Regions from separate parts of the Homo sapiens genome. Here region 2 is linked to region 1. Evidence: promoter capture Hi-C in 16 types of primary human blood cells and fetal thymus (Javierre and others, 2016). All regions are on one chromosome and are shown on one strand. The core of a region is centred on a gene start or on the middle of the fragment in contact, and the rest is flanking DNA. Distances in the headings are between cores, read along the strand shown. Region 1 holds the start of CCL19 (C-C motif chemokine ligand 19). Region 2 has its middle 17 kb from the start of RUSC2.

Region 1 (6,451 bases), core at 1,665-4,164:
CAAGTACGAGGCACTCACTCTGTACAGAGAAGCCCTGTGGGATGCTCCAAGAGTCACACGGCTCTCATCTCCCAGAGCTGAGATTCCTTTCTGGTCTCATCTGGGGAGATGTCTCTGGTCTCAGTGTTGCCTTTGAGCCCTGGAGCCCATGTAGACTGTAGGGGTGGTGGTAGGGCTCCTCTATGTGGAATCTCCTGTGCTTCCCTGGCTACTCCTTCTTCCACCCCGTGGGCCTCTCTCCTGTCTCTGACCTCTGACTCCCAGGTCTGTCTGTCGGTGTCCCTGAGAGGCATGGCCCCAGGATTGCAAAGATGGGGCTGGACCTTGCTCAGTTTGGCTGAGAGAGGAAGGCTGGCCTGGAGGTCAGATTCTGTATGGACAGAATGAACAGATGGACCCTCAGCCCTGGCTGCTGAGCCTTTCCTCACATATTTATTCATTCTCTAAACAAATATTTATTGAGGGACTGCCTTGTGCCAAGCAGCATGCTGGACACCACAAAAACAGTGGAACCCAAAATAGATGTGATCCCAGTCCAAGAACATGGACAAATTTGGACAAACCAGCAACTATAAGTCAGGGTGATGAATGCTGTGAGGGGCCACTGCAGGAGGCTACCTAACCCAGCCTGGGGTCAGGGAAGGCTTCCTGGAGGAAGAGGCGTCTGGACCCAGATGGGAAGCCAGGTGGGCAGAGGAGAGAGAAGAGTGTGCCAGACCAAGGGAAGGGCATGGGTGGATGGGTATTTTCCCCCAGGCAGTAGAGCTGGGCCCTTTGCCCCACTCCACCTCCCCCAGCCGTGAGAGCTGGTTCCCCACAACTCCCTTCCCCCCAGTGACACTGGATTCCTTAGACACCTGGATGCTTGAACACCTGCCTTGGAGAGCAAAGAGTGGGAGGCATGAGACGCTGGCTCATTCAGGGAACTGACCCAAGCTTAGTGTCGCTGAACTATGGAAAGCAATGAGGCTGATCCTGAGAGCATCAGGTTGTTAAGTGGAGGTGAGCAAGGAGACCCCCTAGGCCACAGAAGAGAAAATAGATCCTGCCATTCCACCTCCCCCTTCCTATTCCTGTCCACCTGGCTAGACAGCAAACGGACAGCAGACAGATCTATGGGTGCCAGGTGCCTTTTTTTTTTTTTTTAAGGCTAGTTAAGCAGTAGGAGTGGAGAAAGAACAAAGAAATCTGTAACAGGTTGTGATCAATTAGTTGTAAACACCAGGCGGCTTTATTGGTAGCATTGCAATCTGGGGGTGGAGCAGCTTTACTCTGACCACACTCACCCTCTCGCTCACACTCACACTCACACACACCCCAGGCCCTGTCCTGGCTGGTCAGGTCTGGTGCAGAGGAGCTGGAAGCCTGGTCCTTCCTTCTGGTCCTCGGTTCCCCAGGTTAGGTAATAATTCACAATGCTTGACTCGGACTCCGGGCTCCCTCTGCACGGTCATAGGTTAACTGCTGCGGCGCTTCATCTAGAGGAGGAAGGAGAGGAAGGATCATGGGCTGGAATCTTAGACAGGAGCTCAGAGGGAGGAGACAGGGCCAGGGAGGGCCAGGCTTGCCTTGGCTGAGGTCCTCTGCAGTCTCTGGATGATGCGTTCTACCCAGGGCTGGTCTGGGGGTGCACAGAGCTGGCGGCCCCTCAGTGTGGTGAACCTGGGGTGAGAGGCCGGAGAGAATGGAGCCCCAGAATCCAGCATGCCTGGGGACCATGTCTGGGAACCTGTTTCAGGGATTTCCTTGAAGGGGTTGGGCTTGGCATGGAGAAGGGGAATAAGAAGGTGGGAGTCTCAACAGGGGCTAAAACGGGAGATGAGGCTAGACACCCTCCCCACAACTCACACTACAGCAGGCACCCTGCAGCCATCCTTGATGAGAAGGTAGTGGAAGTTCCTCACGATGTACCCAGGGATGGGTTTCTGGGTCACAGACAGGCAGCAGTCTTCAGCATCATTGGTGCCACTCAGAGTTGGGGCTGGGATGGGGAAAGAAGGTGACAGGACACAGGGACCCTTGAGGGTGGCATGGCCATGGCCCTAGCTCGGATTGAGGACACCTGTGTGTGTGTGTGTGTGTGTGTGTGTGTGTGTGTGTGTGTGTGTCTGGTGGGGTCGGGGAGGAGTTAGACCTGGTATTCAGCCATTATGCACCAATATGGCTCTGGCTCTACTGGTTGCTAAATATATTGTCATACTTCTAAACTGTTTTGTAAATAACCACTGCCCTGAGCCCCACAAATGACTTCCTGCTGCCCTGATCACCCCAACCTCTCTCCCAGGACAATCCAGCAAGTAAAGAGTTAATGCAGGTCACAGTGTGGGAGGGGCGTGGGGTAGGGTAGGCTGGTGTTAGGAGCCTTATTAATTGCTAAAATTTTTGAATATCAGCCTTGGCTTAGTGTCTGCCATTCTCCCTACCTTAAGCAAATCTCCTTCTGCCTGGGAAACGGAGGCAGCAGGAAATAGAGCTTGCAGAGACAGTCACAGCCATAGGCCCCAGGATGTGCTAAAAGACACACCCGCATTGGGATTCAGGGGCACAGGGACACCCACACTTACAGGCACACATGCAGGGACCTGCCAGGCTCACCGAAATATACAGACCTAAGCATTTGCCTGAACTCACCATGTCCCTTACGTCCAGTGCCAAGCAATCTGAGATCTAGACATTACCCACTGCCAGCCCCCCACTGCCTCTGACCCTGACTCTCCCTTCAGCCTTACCTGGGGAAGTCCAGAGAACCAGCAGGCTGAGGGCCAGTAGCAGGGCCATGGAGGGTGAACAGAGGCAGGCCAACGGTGAATGTGTGAGCGCCAGCTGTCTGGGTGTGTGCAGGATCTGTGTGAGGCTGCAGGGCGACTGGGATGCAGGGGTGAAATGCAAGGTGTGAGTGATGTGAGGCTGGGAATGTGAGCCCTGCAGCTGACTCCTATTTATGGCCAGAGCTTCACTTTCTCTGCCTGAAATTCCCCTTCATGTCCCATTCTGTGATTCCCCTGTTGCCCCCCTCTTTCTGGCAGAATCGCACCCTGCCCCCCTTCTTCCCCCTGCGGTTGCCCTTTCCTTCTGCTTTCCTTGGCTCCTGCTCTGAGAACTTAAGTCTGCAGTCTGGCCCAGTAAAGGGGGCTGTGCACTGTTTCTCCAGAGAGAGGGATTGCCCTGTCATCCCATTGATGGCATTTGCATCATCAACCATGAAGCTGGGGTTCAGAAGTGATGGTCAAAGGTGGGGCCCACAGTGAGGAACTGTGCTCCCTTCCTTAGGTTTATCCCTTGTCCTCACTGGTGCTTCTTTCTTGGGCTGGTGGTGAAGAAGGCTCCCTGGCACCCTCAGGACAACCATGAGATCCTGGGGTGGCCTCCAAGGTCATCACTGTGCCTGCCCACTATGTGGGAACCAGTCCTTCCCTTGGGGCAAGCAGAGCTGAAAGGCCAGGTACCTTGGGAGGAGGCCCAGGACCCCCATCCCACATCTCAGGCCTCTGGGGCTCAGCAAACCCTCCCCTTCCTCTATTTACTGTTTTCCTATGTCCAACACCTGGGTCAAAGGAACAGCTGGAGGGAGACTGGCTTGGAATAGCCCCCTTCATTTTCCCCCTTTTCTCAGTCCTGGGAACCAAGAGGGGATTTCTAAGGAGAGGGGCTGGCCAGCTCATATTCAGACAAATCTTAAAATTTCAAGGAATCGGCCGATGGGGGAGGGGACAAGTGACTTCCCATCCTTATGAGAAAGGTCAGAAGAGAAGGCCTTGAAAGAGAAACTAAATGTGAAACGCCCAGTCACCCGTCGTCACCCAAACCCTAGACCCTCTTTTGGATGGAGAGAGGGAGGGGGAACATTTCCCTCTTAAATTTCTGACTTAGCTTCTTTCCATTCATTAATCATAATAATAGTAATGGTATTTTTGATTGTTTACTATGTGCTAGGCTCTATGTCAAGGACTTTACCACTATTACCTTGCTTAACTTTCCCAAAACAATACCATTGATGTAGTTTTTCTTATTTTCACATTATTATTCTTATTTTACACATAAGGAACATGAGGCTCAGAGCACAAAGCCACACAGCTAGTAAGTACTGGAGCATGATTTGGACCCAGGTGTGCTCTAGGGTTTGCAGTCTTTACCTCCACTCCACACCGCCTGTCTGCCACTTGGTCATGGCACAGCACGGGTAGTCACGGTGCAGAGGAGGGAGACTCTGCAGACAGAGCGCCTAGCTTGGGATTCAGATTCCACCACTTACTAACTGCGACAAGGTGAAAATTCTCCAGTTTCTGTGTCTTAGTGTCCTTATTTGTAAAATGGGAATGGTAGAAGATCTACTTCTTAGGATTAAGTGAGGAACCCTGAGTAAAGCCCTTAGCTTAGAGGCTGACGCACAATAAGCTCTGTTAGCCATTGTTCTTCTTTTGTCCTTTTTTTTTTTTTTTTTTTGAGACAGAGTCTCACTCTGTCACCCAGGCTGGAGTACAATGGCACGATCTTGGCTCAGAGCAACCTCCACCTCCTGGGCTCAAGGGATTCTCCTGCCTCAGCCTCCTGAGTAGCTGGGATTACAGGCACCCACCATCATGCCCGGCTAAATTTGGTATTTTTAGTAGAGGTGAGGTTTCACCTTGTTGGCTAGGCTGGTTTCGAACTCCTGGTTTCGAACTCCTGACTTCAAATGATCTGCTTGCCTCCGCTTCCCAAAGTGTTGGGATTACAGGCGTGAGCCACCGTGCCTGGCCTTCTATCCTTTTATTCAGGTATCTGTTCATTAATTCATCCATCCACCCCTCTTTCCATTGATCTATCCATTCTTCTGTCCATGATGGTTCTGGTTATTCTGTTTGCCCCAGCCTATCCATTCTCCACTCTTCACGGCCCTGCTCTGCTCCCTGGAAGGCTGACCTCTGCAGATAGCATTACTTAGGGTCACCTGCTTTCTGGCTTCTGTTTGGGGCTGGCCCATGGGAAGCAGCAACTGATCAGTGGTGGAAGGAGAGAGGGGTATTAATTCCCCAAATCCTTCATCTTGCTGCAGTTCTGGCAGTGAATAATTTCCCCTGTGGCAGTTGTTCTCAAAGAGTAGCCTTTGGGCAGCAGCAGCAGCATCACTTGGGAGCTTGTTAGAAACACGAATTCTTAGATTTTACTTCCCACTTACCACATCTGAGACTCTGAGGATGGGGTCCAGCAAACTGCATTTTCACATACCCTCCAAGTGACTCTGATATGTGCTAAAGTTTGAGATCCAAACGAGCCTCAGGGATACCATCAAATATACCTCATCACAGGAGTCTCAGGAGGAGAATAGAGAGAACAGGGCATTAAAAAAATTGAAGAAATAATGACAAAACATCTGAAATCTGATGAAAAGTATGTATATACATATCCAAGAAGTTCATTACGCCTGGCCTGCTATGTTGTTATGTTTATCAGAGATCTTTGTTTCTTTGTGTGGCTGTAAGTTATTACTTTTTGTCCTTTTGTTTCATTCTGAAGGTCTCCCTTTAGCATTTCTTTGTTTGTTTTTTGTTTTTTCTTTCTCCCTTTAGCTTTTCTTATGGGCAGATGTACTATTAATGAACTTCCTAAGTTTTGTTTATCCAGAACAGGAGTTTGAGACAAGCCTGGCCAACATGGTGAAACCCCATCTCAACTCCTGACTACTCAGCTACTCAGGAGGCTGAGGCAGGAGAATCCCAAGGCTCACCTTGGCCTCCCAAAGTGGTCTACAGATTGAGGCCCACTGATCTACAGTGATCCTTTTGGGTTGCCTCCCTTCCACGGGTCTATCTCTATTCTTTTTTTTTTTTTTTTTTTTTTTTTTTTGATACAGAGTCTCAATATGTCACCCAGGCTCTAGTGCAGTGGCACAGTCTCAGCTAACTGCAGCCTCTGCCTCCTATGTTCAAGTAATTCTCTTGCCTCAGCCACCCGAGTAGCTGGGATTAGAGGCACGCACCACCACGCTTGGCTAATTTTTTTTTTTGAGATGGAGTTTCACCCTTGTCACCCAGGCTGGAGTGCAATGGCACAATCTCAGCTCACTGCAACCTCCGCCTCCTGGGTTCAAGCGATTCTGCTGCCTCAGCCTCCTGAGTAGCTGGGATTACAGGGACCCGCCACCACACCCAGCTAAGTTTTTTGTATTTTTAGTAGAGATGGGGTTTCATCATGTTGGCCAGGCTGGTCTTGAACTCCTGACCTCAGGTGATCCACCTGCTTTGGCCTCCCAAAGTGCAGGGATTACAGGCGTGAGCCACCATGCCCGGCCTAATTTTTGTACTTTTAATACAGATGAGATTTCACCATGTTGGCCAGTCTGGTCTCAAATTCCTGACCTCAGGTGATCCACCCGCCTCGGCCTCCCAAAGTGCTGGGATGACAGGCTTTGGAAACACTGTTCCCTCCTCTTGCCCCTTCAAGCCTTTGTATGATAATGGTTTCTCACCAT
Region 2 (6,451 bases), core at 1,609-4,108, 780 kb after region 1:
CCCCAGGAAGATAGGCCAGGCAGCCCATAGTTTACCAATGAGATAGGTCCAAACATTCACTTGTAAGTCAATTAATCAGAATTCAGAATCCATTTTCCCACACAAACAGTGTGACAGATGGTAGATAGGTGTAATTGTGACCTAAGTTCAACTCCTAAAAGTTGTGGAAGAGAAGAGGAAGGGTTTCCCTTCCTCTTTTTCATAAGCACCTTGAATGAAAATTTGAAATAGCTGAAAAAAGTATTTACCCTACTCTGATCATCCTTTTCTGGGTTCTGCATTTCCTTACACATACACACACCCAAACACATTTTAGTTTCCTCCTTTCCAGGCTTTCTAAACCCTGTACCGGGGCTTTTTGGCAATAAAAAAAAAAGGACCCTATGTAACTAGATTACCTTATTTAGTAATATTTATTGAGTATCTACTATGTGCTAAGGTTTAGAGAGATTGCTATGGTGGCTGATATGGTAAAGGATGGGAGGGGTCCCAACTCCAGGCATAGAGATTATCAGTAATGAGTCAATGATGAGGACCTGAGCACCTCCTTCCTCACCTCAAAGGAAAAAATCCCCATCTGTCAGTGCAGCTGTCTCAGACAGGGATTACTAATAATCACTCTTATAATAAAGCAGACTAACACACATTAAGTATGAATGATGATAAGAAGGAGACCCCTTAAAAGTCTTCACTGTTTTAAAATGAACATGCTTGTTAGCCATAAAGAATCTATAATGGACGCTATTTGGAGCAGAAGAGGAGTATGACAGAGGCAATAGGGAAAACTTATATAAAATGAGAAGAGGTTGTTGTGGGAGGAGACACACCACAGGCAGGCTGGCTCTGCCTGGAAATTTATCAGAGGGTCAGCCCATAAACTATTCCTGATTTTCATAGCTTCTTTCCTTCTTCTGAAATAAACTCTGAGTGTGTCAAGGTTCTCTGTCTTCCCCATGTGACAGGAGCAATAATCCTCCAATTGGGCCAACACAGCCTTTTATAAGTTAACTGTTACTCTATCACACCTTGCATTACTGCAGAAATTCCAAAATTGTAACTTTTCCTGGATACATTATGGAAAAAAAAAAAAAGAATAAAAGCCAGGTATGACTCAAAAAAGTTAATCAAGTATATCTGGGTCCAGGTGGTAAAGCCTTGGGTGATAATGGCCAAAGTCAGCATTACAATGGGTTGGCTGGTGGGAAGGGTCCTTCAGAAGGGTAGAATCCCAAGGAAGACACTCTGATTTTCAGATGCTTAGCCCTGCTAAGAAAGAAACCAGGATGATATATTTGCTTGTCCTGTTCTGACGCAGAACCATTCTTTTTCTGCTTTCTCCTTAGTGTTGAAATAATAAGATTGGGCAACAGTTTATATATCAACTGGGATCGGAAGATGTTTTATGCACCAAGGAACACACCAGCACAGGCTCGTACTACCACCCTTACTGAGGAGCTCGGCCAAGTCAAATATGTGTTCTCTGACAAAACAGGGACTCTGACTCAGAACATTATGATTTTCAACAAATGTTCTATTAATGGGAAGCTCTATGATATGCATGTCTTCCTGCTTTCCCCAAGTCCTGGGAAATTTTTACTTTGCAAATTGTTTTCAAGACTAATCTAGCTCTAAATCTGTAAGCCTCTGGAATTCACATTTATCTCCTATTCTCACAACTGTCTCTATTCTCTAAGCAAAGACCACCCAGCCCAAACAGTTCTAACCAAAAAGCATTTATTTAGCATCTTATAGGTACAATCTATTGTGTTGGGCATTGAGAATACCGAGATGTGCAAGACTTAGTCTCTGTCCTCAAGGAGTCCCCAATGTCTATGTACTCAGTTCACTCCCACTTTAAATCAGATGGATGTTGGTCAAAGGGTACAAAGTTTCAGTTAGGCAGGAGGAATAAGTCTTCAAGATCCATTGCACAGCATGTTGATCCTAGTTAATAATAATGTATTGCATATTTCAAAATTACTAAAAGAGTTTTAAATGTTCTCACTACAAAAAAATAAGTATGCAAGGTGATAAATATGTTAGTTAGCTTGATATAATCATTCCATGGTGTATACATATATGAAAACATCACATTGTATCCATAAATATATACAATTAGTATTTGTCAATTAATAATAAAATTAAAAATAAATTAAATGGAGCAGTCAATGTATTACTGAAGCTGCTAATTTCTTGATTCCCCTTTACAGCAATAAATATTATTGAGAGAAACCATCAAAGGGTAGTCAGAGTTTGATCAGTGTCTCCCAGGCCCAATCCCTTATTTATCTTATGCCTTAAGCATAAGCTTGTTTTTGTGATAGAGTTAAGTCCTCATGTGTGTGAACAGTCATACCCAGTGTCCTAGCTAACAGAGGAAGGTAATCACATCTAAAAAACTAGAACACATGGAATAATCTTTCTGGGGTGACGAAAAAGTTTAGAAACTTGAGAGAGGTGGTAGTTGCACATTGTAAATGCACTAAATGCCTCTAAATTGTACACATTAAAATGGATAATTATATGTTAACTAAGTAAATTTCATATCAATAAGTAATTGAAATTTTTTAATTAAAAAAAGCTAGGCCGGGTGCGTTGGCTCACGCCTGTAATTTCAATACTTTGGGAGTCTGAGGCAGGCGGATCACCTGAGGTCAGAAGCTCGAGACGAGCCTGGCCAACATGGTGAAACCCCATCTCAACAAAAAATACAAAAATATTAGCCAGGCATGGTGGCACATGCCTGTAATCCCAGCTACTTGGGAGGCTGAGGTGGGAGAATTTCTTAAACCCGGGAGGTGGAAGTTGCAGTGAGCCAAGATCATGCCACTGCACTCCAGCCTGGGTGACAAGAGTGAAACTCCTGTCTAAAAAAAAAAAAAAAAAAGACTAGAGCACTCTAATATTTCCTATTATTTCCTATATTTCCTATTATTTGTTTGGTAACCATGTCAAACAAATTTTCACTTATATAAACTCTGAAGGCTTATTTTTGGATGAGCTGATTTGGGTGAGCCTCTTAATTCTCTGACCTGACCATATACTGGGTAAAGTTGAAAAGGACCATGAGTGTTTCCATGCTTGGCATCAGACATGTCTTCTACCCCTATTCAGTCTGTCATCCACTGGTCAAGAATCCCAAACATTCTAAAACTGTGTCCACATCTCTTCTGGGTAACTCTTATGATTGGAGGGCTTCCTGAGGTGTGAAGTCTATCACAGATCCAGTGACTAACTTCTAGCTTCATCTTATTCTCACTTAGGGGAGAAGAGTTGAGGCCCAAGCAAACCTCTTCTTACCATTGGCTTAGGGAAAGGAGCTTACTGGGAACTGGGAGCTAGGTGGCCTGAGGAGACTGGGGGGCAGGCATCTTGACTGCAAGTCTAGGATGAAGGAATCAGAATAAATAAGCTTTTAAGGCCCCTCCTTTAAATCACCATATGACCCAGCAATTTGATTCCTAGGTATATACCCCCAAAACTTGAAAACAAGAACTCGGATACATGTATACCAACGTTCATTGTGACATTATTCGCATAAGTCCAGAGATAGAAATAACCCACATGTCCATCCACAGATGAATGGATAAAGAAACTGTGGTATAGCATATACATACAATGGAATGTGAATCATCCATAAAAAGTAATGAAATTTGATACATGCTACAACATGGATGAACCTTGAAAGCATTATGCTAAGTGATGTAAGCTAAACACAAAAAGACAAAAATTTTATGATTCTACTTATGTGAACTATCTAGAATAGGCAAATTCATAGAGACAAAAAATAGACTAGAGGTTACTAGGGGCTGGTGATGGGAAAAAATGGGAAGTTTCTGTTTGGGGTGCTGAAAAAATGTTGGAAATATATAGTGGTGATTGTTGCACAACATTGTGAATATAATTAATGTCATTGCATTTTACATTTAAAATAGTTAAAATGGCAAGTTTTATGTGATATATATGTATATTTTTTTAACAACAATTTAAAGAAATTCAAACCCTCCTTTAAAACCCTTGCCAAGTCTCTGCTGTGTTCACTTACCAACAGGTGATACTTATGACAAGGATGGACAGAGGGTGACGGTCTCTGAGGTGAGTGATTACAGCTCCATGGGAAATGCATGTGGGAGCTGAGTGAGGCTGTGCTTCAGAGAAGCATCCTTAATACAAATCGAGACTCCCTTAGCCACTGAAATATTAAAGCTTTTACTGGTCCTGTAATATCAGAAAGCATTATATAAATGACCTATGTTTAATTCTGAAGATCTTCGTTTGTTCTTTTTAAACAAAAATAGCTTTATTGGCTTTTTCTCTTTAAAAAATAATCCATGCTCACTGTAAAAAAAAAAATTAAATAATACAGAAATGTGTGAAGAAAGTTAAAATTATTCCATCCCATTTAGATAGCCAGTGTAAAGTTGGGGAGTATATCCTATGCTTTTCATATGTGTATACACACACACATATGTACATCTAGATCTAGAAGATGGGGGAGATAAAATCATAGTATGCATGCTATTTCCAGTTTCCTTTTGTTCACTTGACACTATTATTGTCGTCATCTTTCCATGTCGGTAGGTCTAGGTCTACATCATCATTTTGAATGGGTGTCCACTATTCAGTTGTATCACTGTACCTTAATTTATTTAATTTCTTATTTTTATTCCATTTTCCTTTGCGATTACAAATGACATTTTGGTAATCATTATGGAACATACATTTTGTCTACTTTTCTGATAATTATTTCTTTAGAATAAAGTCCTAGAAGTAAAATTCATTGGTCAAAAGGTAGCCACGTTTTAATACATTAAATAGTGCCACATTGCCCTCCAGGTAGATTCGCATAACTTTATAATCCCACCAAAAATATATGACATTTTGTTTTCCCCCATATGCTTGTCAGAACTGGTATTAACAATTTTTAATCTGTTGAAATTTAATTGATGAAAAATGGTATCTAATTATTTAATTTACCTTTTTTGATGACTAATTAGGTTGAATCATTTTTATGTGCTTATTTTTCTTCCCCTTATCATCTCTTTATTGCCCATTTACACTTACTTTGTGAACTGTCTATTCATATTCTTTGGCCTTTTTTTCTTATTTGAAAATGCTCTTTATACAGTAAAAATACTAGCTCTTCCTTTTTCTGGTGCATATGTTATAATTATTTTTCCCATTTTGTCTTTTGGTTTTTAATTTGTTAAATAATATTTTGTGTAGAAGTGTTTAATTCATGTAATCAAATCTATCAGTCATTTTCCTTTGTAACTTAAGGATTTGTGACATATTCAACAGGCTTTATAAAATTATAAAAATATCTTCCTATTCATTCTTCTTATCTCTAGTTGGTTTTTACTGTTTTCTCTAGTATTGGACCCAGCTTTTGTTTATGGATTTGTTTTTAAGTGTCCCTTCACAGGGGTTCTTCTGCTGCCTTCAGGGTATTCCTCACCTTATCTCTGTCTTGCTAGACCCAATTCCAAACTGAGCCACTTGACTTATGTACCAAACATCTGACTCCAGTTCTCAACTGTTGCCTTACCCCTGTCCATCCAAAGAGATTGGGAAGGGGAAGGAAATTCAGTGATTTGCCTTAAATCATCTTCCAGGGGCTTGGCTAATGACCTTGGCAATATAGGCAAAATTATAGCTTCTAGGGAGTAAATCCCTCCTGGAGTTTCTTTCCTCTCCTTCTGTCCACTACTGATTGACCGTAACACATTTTTCACTAAATCACTGGAATTTTTGTTCTCTTATAAACAAACTTACCTATAGCCTCAATCCCTTCATTAATTGAAACATGATTTTCCCTGAGAACATTCCTTTTTCTTCCATCTCTCTCATACTCTGCATACCATAAACTCTGGATACCATAAGCCCAAAGGTGTTGCCCTCATTATCCTGTGCCATGTTTAACCATTAGTTTTTCTCTCCTACACAATCTTTCTTCCTGTGATGCTTATGACTTCTGGCTATACTCATCTGTAACTCTTCTTGTTGTTGATATCTAGGAAGCTTCTGGCTTCTACACCCCATTCATTGAGGGCTTTGAAACTTCTCCCTCCCCTCCCAACCACTGCTATTGTTTTGGGTGGTATTGTCATCCTTATGGACGACCTATCACTGTAGACTCTTTCAGGTCTCTGAAAGAATCCTTCAGATGATCTCTTGGACAAAAAAAAAAAAAAATCTGTATCACCCATTTCCATGTTACCATGTAATTGTCCAGAGTTGTACTAATGTGGAATTATAAACTTTCTTTTCACAATCTTTGATCACAAACCTTATTCCTCCATATTCTCAGTACATGGCTCGTACTTGAGATTTTTAAAAGTATTCCTGCTTTTTTATCTCATGGAGATTTATAAACCCTTGGCTTTCTTTTTTCTCCAGTCTATCAATTCCTTATGACTTTACTTCCTTTCCTAGCTTGCCTGTCTGTACC

Evidence for each region. The method cuts DNA at HindIII sites, captures the fragments that hold promoters and counts their contacts. A CHiCAGO score of 5 or more calls a contact.
Region 2: a fragment that was not itself captured here is called in contact with the fragment with the promoter of CCL19 in region 1 in 3 of 17 cell types (M2 macrophages, M0 macrophages and naive B cells); the score reaches 6.6 in M2 macrophages.

The regions. Positions count from the first base shown.
Region 1 is chr9:34,688,362-34,694,812 of GRCh38, forward strand. CCL19 (C-C motif chemokine ligand 19) reads right to left here and starts at 2,915. Exons shown (of 4, transcript NM_006274.3): 1 at 2,730-2,915; 2 at 1,849-1,981; 3 at 1,569-1,662; 4 at 1,209-1,478. The coding sequence starts at 2,778. The coding sequence ends at 1,458. It also overlaps a transcript of PHF24 not described here. The HindIII fragment of the contact is 13,722 bases long and covers 935-6,451 here.
Region 2 is chr9:35,469,677-35,476,127 of GRCh38, forward strand. It overlaps the pseudogene ATP8B5P. Among named protein-coding and RNA genes, the nearest start is that of RUSC2, 17 kb to the right of the region's middle. The HindIII fragment of the contact is 1,104 bases long and covers 2,307-3,410 here.